Regions from separate parts of the Homo sapiens genome. Here regions 1 and 3 are each linked to region 2. The links are contacts of gene promoters, found by promoter capture Hi-C in human tissues and cell types (Jung and others, 2019). All regions are on one chromosome and are shown on one strand. The core of a region is centred on a gene start or on the middle of the fragment in contact, and the rest is flanking DNA. Distances in the headings are between cores, read along the strand shown.

The links. Contacts are between HindIII fragments. The study calls those that stand out against the background at their distance.
Region 1: a contact is called between the fragment with the promoter of DPP9 here and the fragment with the promoter of EEF2 in region 2, in 2 of the 25 tissues and cell types used here (bladder and heart left ventricle).
Region 3: the fragment with the promoter of CELF5 here is called in contact with the fragment with the promoter of EEF2 in region 2 in 2 of the 25 tissues and cell types used here (pancreas and thymus).

What each region holds. Positions count from the first base shown.
Region 1 is chr19:4,722,343-4,725,186 of GRCh38, forward strand. It overlaps DPP9 (dipeptidyl peptidase 9), which reads right to left and starts at 1,500. Exons shown (of 22, transcript NM_139159.5): 1 at 1,332-1,500; 2 at 157-209. It overlaps TRG-TCC1-1 (tRNA-Gly (anticodon TCC) 1-1), which reads left to right and starts at 1,728; the gene lies at 1,728-1,799. TRV-CAC3-1 (tRNA-Val (anticodon CAC) 3-1) reads right to left here and starts at 2,365; the gene lies at 2,293-2,365. LOC105372250 (a long non-coding RNA gene) reads left to right here and starts at 538. Exons shown (of 3, transcript XR_936274.2): 1 at 538-644; 2 at 2,278-2,367; 3 at 2,793-2,844. RefSeq lists silencers at 1,301-1,450, 1,681-1,770, 2,221-2,420. The HindIII fragment of the contact is 28,361 bases long and covers 1-2,844 here.
Region 2 is chr19:3,984,141-3,986,965 of GRCh38, forward strand. EEF2 (eukaryotic translation elongation factor 2) reads right to left here and starts at 1,323. Exons shown (of 15, transcript NM_001961.4): 1 at 1,238-1,323; 2 at 1-210. The coding sequence starts at 1,240. RefSeq lists enhancers at 1-740, 34-253, 1,509-1,558 and a silencer at 1,119-1,228. The HindIII fragment of the contact is 12,453 bases long and covers 1-2,825 here.
Region 3 is chr19:3,222,958-3,226,036 of GRCh38, forward strand. It overlaps CELF5 (CUGBP Elav-like family member 5), which reads left to right and starts at 1,704. Exons shown (of 13, transcript NM_021938.4): 1 at 1,704-2,041. The coding sequence starts at 1,783. RefSeq lists a silencer at 1,525-1,644. The HindIII fragment of the contact is 19,492 bases long and covers 1-3,079 here.

The DNA of each region.
Region 1 (2,844 bases), core at 250-2,749, 740 kb after region 2:
GGCGCACAAAAAACTGCAGCCACTGCCCTGCGGAGGACAACCATCCAGGGCCATAGAAAACCATTTCCTGCCCATGTCTATATTCTAGAGCAGGCAAAGGAATCCCACCAGCCCACACCCCAGCCTTCCTGGCTGCCAAACCCCAGCACAACTGACCTTCTAAAGGGTCCAGAGAGCCTCCATTCCAGCTGCAGGCGTGGGACACAGACCTTTATAGGATAAACATGTCATGAATGTGGCAGGTTAATGGAAGCACCGGCCAGCCGTTCAGCCTCCCCCACTCAGGAGCTGCAGACTGTCAGGCCCGATTCTACCTGGCTAGATTCTAGCTCTGCCTTGAAGCCCTGCAGCACTGTCTGCATGCCCTGGACAGAATCTGGGAGAGAAGCCATCCCACGGGCCCCGATTCCCCTGGGACCCAGCAGAGGAATGCAGGGATTGGTGCCTACGGTCCACACCCCCTGGGCTTTAGTCCCAGCTCCTCGAAAGCAGGTTGGTTCTTGCCTGGGAGGCAAGTGACTTCCTCCTGGGGCCCCTGGGGAAGACCAGGGGGTGGGGGCCAAGGGAATAGACCACTTTTGATGGCTCAGAGGCAGCGTGAACAGGGAAGTGTCAGGGCTGGCCTAAGGCTGTGTGGGAAGAAGGTAGGCGGTTGGACAGGCCTGAGAAGGGAGGCTGAGAGAAGGGGGCTGAACCCTGTGGGCTGGACCCTTGGAAGACAGCTATGCTAACCACTACACCACCAACGCCTCGGCAGGAAAAAGAGTCTCTGGATACCCTTAATAGAGGGATCAAGTAGGGTTGAGGATCAGGACTGGATTGGGGAGACCAAGCCTCGGGGCGAAGGTTGGAGGAAGTGGTAAAGGAGTGAGGACAGGATGCAGGTCGAGGGAGGTGGCCTCTGTGCATATACAGCATTTGCATGGGGAGAGGGAGGAGATCGGGACCTCCAGAGCCTGCACGAAAGGGGAGAGGGTGTCAAGGTCTGCAGCTACGAGGACGTTCTTGGGTGCGGCCACCTCCGGAAGGGGTCAGAGCCTGGTGGCCTGGGCAGCAACGGGATGGGTGGGGAAGCCCATCAGGGAAGGGGAGAAACTGGGAGGTGGCCTGGCCAGCGCAGGAATCGGGGAGGGAAAGAAGGTGGAGGAGGGCCTGGGGCGGAGAGGAAACGAGGCAGGGGGCCGGAGGGACCCACAGACGGGTGCATGGAGGCTCCGGGGTGCGGGGAGGCCAGGCGATGGCGAGGGCAGGGTCAGGGCCGAGGCGGGGCCGGTCAATGGCGGGTTCAGGGTCGCGGCCGGGGCGGGACGAGGCGCGCGGGCGCTGCTCACCGGGACGTGGGGCGGCGGCCGGACTGGGCAGGTCGTCCCGGGTCCAGCGGCGCCTCACGGTCGCGGCTCCATGCCCGGGACTGCGACCCCGGAAGTGGCGGGAGCGGGGGACGACAGCCGCGGCGGACACAGGGGACCCGCCGGCTCAGGCACCTTTGACCCGGAAGTTGAGCGACCCAGGCGGCGGCCTGGGATTGGACACCACCAGGCACGTACCAAGGCGTCCGCGGCGCTTGGGGGGGAGCCCGCGGCGCGGCGGCCTAAGGTGCGTAACGCCCCATGAACGACATCTTCCGGTGGGTTAGGGAGAGACACCCCCCTGTGACTTGGTATCACTCAGTCAAACCCATGATCCCCCACTATTAAGGATATCCGGAGAGGATGCTACCTATCAGGGCGTTGGTGGTATAGTGGTTAGCATAGCTGCCTTCCAAGCAGTTGACCCGGGTTCGATTCCCGGCCAACGCATGCGGTACCACTTTTGCGAGTTTGAAATTTTCATTTTAGTTTTGAGACGGAGTCTCGCTCGGTCCCCCAGGCTGGAGTGCAGTGGCGTGATCTCCGCTCACTGCAACCACCACCTCCCAGGTTCAAACGATTCTCCTGCCTCAGCCTCCCAAGTAGCTGTGATTACAAGCGCACGCCACCACGCCCATCTAATTTTTGTATTTTTAGTAGAGATGGGGTGGGGTGGGGCGGGGTGGGGCGGGGTGGGGGGGGGGGGGCGGTTCACCATTTTGGCCAGGCTGGTCTCGAACTCTGACTTCAGGTGATCCGCCCTCTTCGGCCTTTCAAAGTGCTGGGATTACAGGCGTGAGCCATCAATCACGGAAAATTTTTTTAAATCCCATAAAAATGTCTAAAAGGCAGGAGGAAGGCGGAAGAGAAAGAATGGGACTAGAATCGTTCTTTCGGTGAATTTCAAATAGTATTACTCTCCGGTTAGGAAAAACAGCTGACCTGTTTCCGCCCGGGATCGAACCGGGGACCTTTCGCGTGTGAGGCGAATGTGATAACCGCTACACTACGGAAACCGGTAGGCGTCAGGGTTCTTTAAATTCTCCTATAGAGATAATGTTGCAGTGATAGTTGCGTTGTCCCACCAAAGAAACACTGGCTACAGTCAGCTAAAGCAATATCCGCTCTTCCTGAATATCTGTTATTGTATTTGATACAGTAGAGACCGAAAGAAGGAAAATAAGGAAGACAAAAAGAAATCCAATAAACACCCTTTCCAACACACCCACCCACCCACACACATGTTTATCACTTTATCATAAATCCACCTTCCATTAAAACAATGCACGTCAAACGGCCCACAAACCCATCCGGGGTCAAATGAAGCTTTTCATCTCATAGATATCAATCTATACTTGATATCACATTAGTTTCTGCAGATATTCACCATTTTGCTTTAGATCAAACTACTTTTTTGTGTGTTTTGTTTTTTGTATTTTTTAGAGAGAGTCTCGTTCTGTCGCCTAGGCTCGAGTGCAGTGGTACGATCATCCCT
Region 2 (2,825 bases), core at 73-2,572:
CTTGATGGTGATGCAACGCTCCTGCTCGTCCTTCCGGGTATCAGTGAAGCGTGTCTCCCCGGCCCGGGCCGAGGCGATGATGCCCGCCTTGCACACCAGGGAGTCTGTCAGCGTGGACTTGCCATGGTCCACGTGGGCGATGACAGACATGTTGCGGATGTTGGCCTTCTTGTCCATGATGGCGCGGATCTGGTCTACCGTGAAGTTCACCTGGGCAAGACAAGGAGGCTCAGACCAGCTCGTGATTTCCAGGAACACAGCATGGCACGGAGCGTTCAGTCCAAACGAACCAGCATGCCCAAGGCCAGGAGGGGGTTGGTGCTGGGGTGCCCCAAGCCCACCGAATCTTGCCAGCCTAACACCCCTTAAGAGCCACCCCGCAATCTCCAAGGAACCACCGTTAATAGGTGTCATTCATGATTGACAACCCAGAAATAAAAGTGCTCAGGAATAAAACTGAGTGTCAACAGATTTCCTTGATACCAGGTACAAATACTAAAGTCTCATTTGGGGCCAAACACGTAAGGGATGAATCCTCTCCTAAAGCCCCCTCCACGTTGTCACCGGGCCACCCAAACTTCCCCGAGCAAGAAGCTTCATCATAAAATGCAAGGTCACCCCTTGGCAAACGGGATCAGACAAGGCCACCCACCCCAGGAAATAACGGGGAGCCGGAACGGCCCTAACTGCCACAAGCCTACACCTCGTGTCTCAATAAGAGTCTTTGTACATCTGGGAGTCATAGGAAGGACAAGTGCCTAAGGTCGACGATTAACAGCATCAGGAGAAGGTATTTGGAAGGAAAAGGGGAGCCTTTCAGGTGTCGCTTTGCTCGTTCTGCCATTCCCTGCCGCCCCTAGTCCCCCGGCAGAAAATCGATCTCAAACTCGCGGCCCGCGGGTTACATAAGGCGCCTCCCTGTCTCCCCGCTTCCACCGCGGTGCCCGCCATTACTACGCCTGCCACATCATCATTCCCCACCCCCATCCCCGCTAACAACCCAGCTCCAACCAGGTCTGGGCAAGGTTATGGCGCCCTCGGAAACGGAGAAAGGGCTCGGTGAACAGCGCGGCGCACAGACATGGCGGCGGCCGCTTCCCCAGCCCCGGGTCCTCCGGCCCCGCCGCCGCTACGTCTCCTCCTGGCACGGGGGGCCCCAGCGTCCCAGGCTAGGCAGCGTAGGCCCCGCGGAGGCCCCGCCGCCGCTCCGGGGCACCAGCGAGGCAGGGTTACTCACCATGGTGGCGGATGGCGGTGGATTCTCCCAGGTAGAACCGAAAGAAGCGAGTCGCGCCGAGGATGGCGGCGACGACGGCGGAAGAGAACGCTGACGTCAACACTCAGCTTTTTATAGGCGGACGCCGGTTGGGCGGGTCATGTGACTGCGCTGCGAAGGCGGGGCGAAGGGACGCCGCGCAAGCGCACGGAGGCGTGTCCCCCCGCCCGTTAACCCATTCGGCGCCGGCGCGGCGCTCTAGAATAGAAGCTGGGCATCTCGGGGGCGGTGGTCGCCCTCGGTGTGCAGTGTTCAGGTGCACAAAGTAAAGAGCGCCGTTTTAGCTGAGAACGAGAACCATAGCAACGATATTAGCTTACAAGTTGTCCAGTACTTCTATTAAAACCAATTTACAAGGTGAATAGAGTCTGTGGATTATACCCAAGTCAATTTCCCTGTTTGGACATTGTTACGTAAGACGATACCCCTGGGAGAAGCCGAGGGAAAAAGGACACTCGCGACCACTATACTGTTTTTGCAACTCCTTACCTGTAATTATTTCTAAATAAAAACTTTATAAGAAGCAGGCATCGGAATCACTGATCCCACAAATGCATACTGAGCATCTATACACCAGGCATTGTTAGGGGTTTTGTAGATATAGCAGTGGACCAAACACCTTGCTAGCTTGACCACACTGCGTGTTCTTCTACCAGCTACTAGGATTTCTCTGTGCCTCAATTTCACCTGCTCGGAGGTGATCAATACCACCCTATTGTTTGGGGGAGAGTGAAACGAACTAAAGACATCTAAAAGAATTAGGACCGTGCCTGATACCCAACGCTCAATAAACGCTATCTATTTTAATTAGCTAAGATTGCTATTAATAAAACAGTTATTTATTTCAGGACTGGTTTGCCATGTCCCAGGCACCCGGCTAAGCGGTTTACTGGCACAATTTCATTTTCTATTTCATTTCCTCTCCAGGGGGAGGCGCAGGAAGACTGTTTAGCATTTGTGTCCTAATCTGACCCTAAGAAACAGTTGAATGTATTTCATATCTCATGAATTGGCATTCAATTGTGTAACTCTATCCCTTATGAAAAGCCCAACCCGCTGTTTAGCACATAGTAGGTACTCAGCATTTCTTGCATGAATGATGTTCTCACAGTGCAAATGAACCCCCTGCGGTACATCTTTCCTTAAACTCACTTTGTGAAACAGGAGAGCCACTGCAGTGCTTTTCCTGGGCTGGGAGAGGGGGAGGTGTGGATCCACAAAAAGCAATGCAAATTCCAGCCTGGACTCTAAAATAAACCTGTACACTCCTCCCCCTCACGAATGCTTCGGGCACTTTGCTTTACAAAGCGCTGTCTCAACCTTGGGTTTCATTTAACGGATGATTGCTCTTCCTATCACCATTTAACCCAGTGGAAAACTGAAAAGTATCTTCCGAAAGGATTGAGGCTCTGAAAGGCAGAGGGCGCGGCAGGGAGCAGATGGGAGCGCCCGGGGTCCCTAACCACCTACACCTGTACCTGTGACGCGTTTAGTTAAGTTGCAAGTCAAGCGCATGCGCCATTTGGGGCATGAGTTTTTAGCAGAGGGG
Region 3 (3,079 bases), core at 454-2,953, 760 kb before region 2:
GAGGAGGGGGAGAGAGGGAGCAGGGGAAGGTGGGGACAAGGCAGAACAGGACACGCAGAGCCTTGTGGGCCTCAAGAAGGACTTGGGCTTTAATTATGGGACATCTTTGGGAAGTGTTTTTTTTTTTTTTTTTTTTGAGACAAGATTTCATTCTGTCGCCTAGACCAGAGGCAGTGGTGCGATCCTGGTTCACTGCAGCTTTAATATCCCAGGGATCAACCGATGCTCCCACCGCAGCCTCCGAGTAGCTGGGACCAACGGTGCACACCAACCACTCCTGGCTGATTTTTTTTTTTTTTTTTCTCAAACAGAGTTTCACTCTTGTTGCCCAGGCTGGAGTGCAATGGCGCAATCTCGGCTCACTGCAATCTCCGCCTCCCGGGTTCAAGCGATTTTCCTGCCTCAGCCTCCTGAGTAGCTGGGATTACAGGCATGCACAACCATGCCTGGCTAATTTTTGTGTTTTTAGTAGAGACAGAGTTTTCTCCATGTTGATCAGGCTGGTCTCGAACTCCTGATCTCAGGTGATCCACCTGCCTCAGCCTCCCAAAGTGCTGGGATTACAGGTGTGAGCCATCGTGCCTGGCCTGTTTTCTTATTTTTTACAGCAATGGCGTCTCACTATGTTGCTCAGGCTGGTCTCCAACTCCTGGGCTCAAGTGGTCCTCCTGACTCTGCTTCTCAAAGTGCTGGGATTACAGGTGTGAGCCACCACGGCCAGCACGTATTATTATTTTTATTAATATTATTGATGAGTTTCATACGTAAAGGATCACGGGCACTTTAGAGCTGGGAGATACTTCAGTATTTCTCCTATCCTGTCATTATCAGTGCGAGCCAGTCTCCCTCCTTGTTGATGACATTATTGATGAGTTACATACTTAAAGGGCCAAGGACACTTTCTATGTGTAAGCACCCTATAGAACTGGAAGATACTTTTACCATTTCTCCTGTGCTGTCGTGATTAGTGGGAGCACTTTGTCTTGCTCTTGATTAATTATTATTAGTGTTGTTATTATTAGGTGTTTTTTTTTTTTTTTTTTACCAAGACGGAGTTTTGCTCTTGTTGCCCAGGCTGGAGTACAATGGCACAATCTTGGCTCACTGCAACCTCCGCCTCCTGGGTTCAAGTGATTATCCTGCCTCAGCCTCCCGAGTAGCTGGGATTACAGGCACCCCCCGCCACCGAGCCCAGCTAATTTTTGTATTCTTTAGTAGAGACGGGGTTTCACCGTGTTAGCCAGTCTGGTCTCGAACTCCTGACCTCAAGTGATCCACCCACCTCGGCCTCCCAAAGTGCTGAGATGACAGGCGTGAGCCACCGCGCCCAGCCATATTATTAGTGTTATTAATATTATTGATGAGTTACCTACTTTAAGGATCACGGGCGCTTTCAACGACAAGCCCCCTACATTATCCCAGCAACTTTTGACATTCTTCCGGCCGATGCCCTCCGCGGGAGCCGGCGGGGACCCCTGGGAAGCCGGCTAAGGCCCGTCCCGCCCGCAGCTCCGCCCTCGCCCACCCGTAGGCGGGGCCCGGGGCCTTCCGGCCTCAGTTTCCCCCCGCGGCCCGGGGATGCGGGGAGGCGCCGGCTGCCCCGCGCGGCGCGGCCGCCAGGGGCCGCTGCGGAGCCGCCTTTGTGGTCCCGATGCCGGGGCGGGCGCGGGCGGGAGGAGGGCGCGGGGGCCCGGGAGGGAGGCGGGAGGCGCGGCCGCCGCTCCAGCTGCGAGTCCGCCCGCCGCCCGCCGCCGCCGCCGCCGGCTCGGTCCCGCGCCCGCCATGGCCCGCCTGACGGAGAGCGAGGCGCGCCGGCAGCAGCAGCAGCTCCTGCAGCCGCGGCCCTCGCCCGTGGGCAGCAGCGGGCCCGAGCCCCCCGGGGGGCAGCCCGACGGCATGAAGGACCTGGACGCCATCAAACTCTTCGTGGGCCAGATCCCGCGGCACCTGGACGAGAAGGACCTCAAGCCGCTCTTCGAGCAGTTCGGCCGCATCTACGAGCTCACGGTGCTCAAAGACCCCTACACGGGGATGCACAAAGGTGGGCGCCCGGCCCCCTCCCCCCTCTCCCCCTCCCTCCGCCTCCCACCCCACCTTCCGGCATCTTCTCTCCCCCATCACCATCCCTCCTCTGCTCACCTCCCTCCTCTGCCTGCCTCTGCCGGAGCATCGGTTCTTACCCCCTCCCTCCCACCCACCCCTCCTCCCCTCTCTGGGGGTGCAGCTGACAGATCCGAGCGGGCCCCCTCCCCTCCTCCGCCCCCTCTCCCTCCCTCCCCACCTTCCGGCATCTCCTCTCTCTCTCCCTCTCTCTCTCCCTCTCTCTCTCCCTTTCTCTTCTCTCCCATCTCCCTCGACCTCTCATCCTTCCCCCCACAGCACCCTCTCTCTCCCTCCCTCCCTCCCTCACCCTTCCATCCCCCAGACCCCCACCCCTTCCTCCCTCCCTCACCCCACTCTTTCCTGCCCGTTTGCCAGGGGAGCCTCGGGAACGCCGGCACCCCTCCCTGCCCCCCCACCCCCATTCATTCAGCCTCCCCAGGCCCCGTCGGGGAAGTTTGCACCTGCGGACTCCATTGCTTTGGTTATTTTCACAAAGCCAGGCCGGCGGGGCAGGTCCGGCCGCGGGGGACACGGATGCCCAGGACCCCAGGCTAATCGGTAACTACAAAGGAAGACGGGTTGGGGGCGCCCGGCTCGGGGGGACGCGCCCGCCTCGCCTGCCTCGGGTGGCGGAGAGGCTCCCGTCGCTGCCCACCCCCTGGCCCCACCACCTCCGCGTGGATCAGCATTCTCTCCTCCATTTCTCTGCCCTCCCCCTCCCCCGCCTCCACCTTGGGCTCAAGTTGAAACTGGCCGAGCCTCTTAGCAATGTGTTGGGGTCTCAGGCCCAAGACAATGAGCTTGGACGTGTCCATCTGGGCAGAGCCCAAATTCTGGGGTGGACAGGGAGGAGGAGGGAGGCGTGGGCGGCCTCAGGCCTGTCTGCCTCCCTCCCACTGGATTCTCCCTCCGATGGCATCCCGGGTGGGGGTGTCCGGCAATTGTATCCCCAGCCCTTGGTTCCCATCATGGGCCC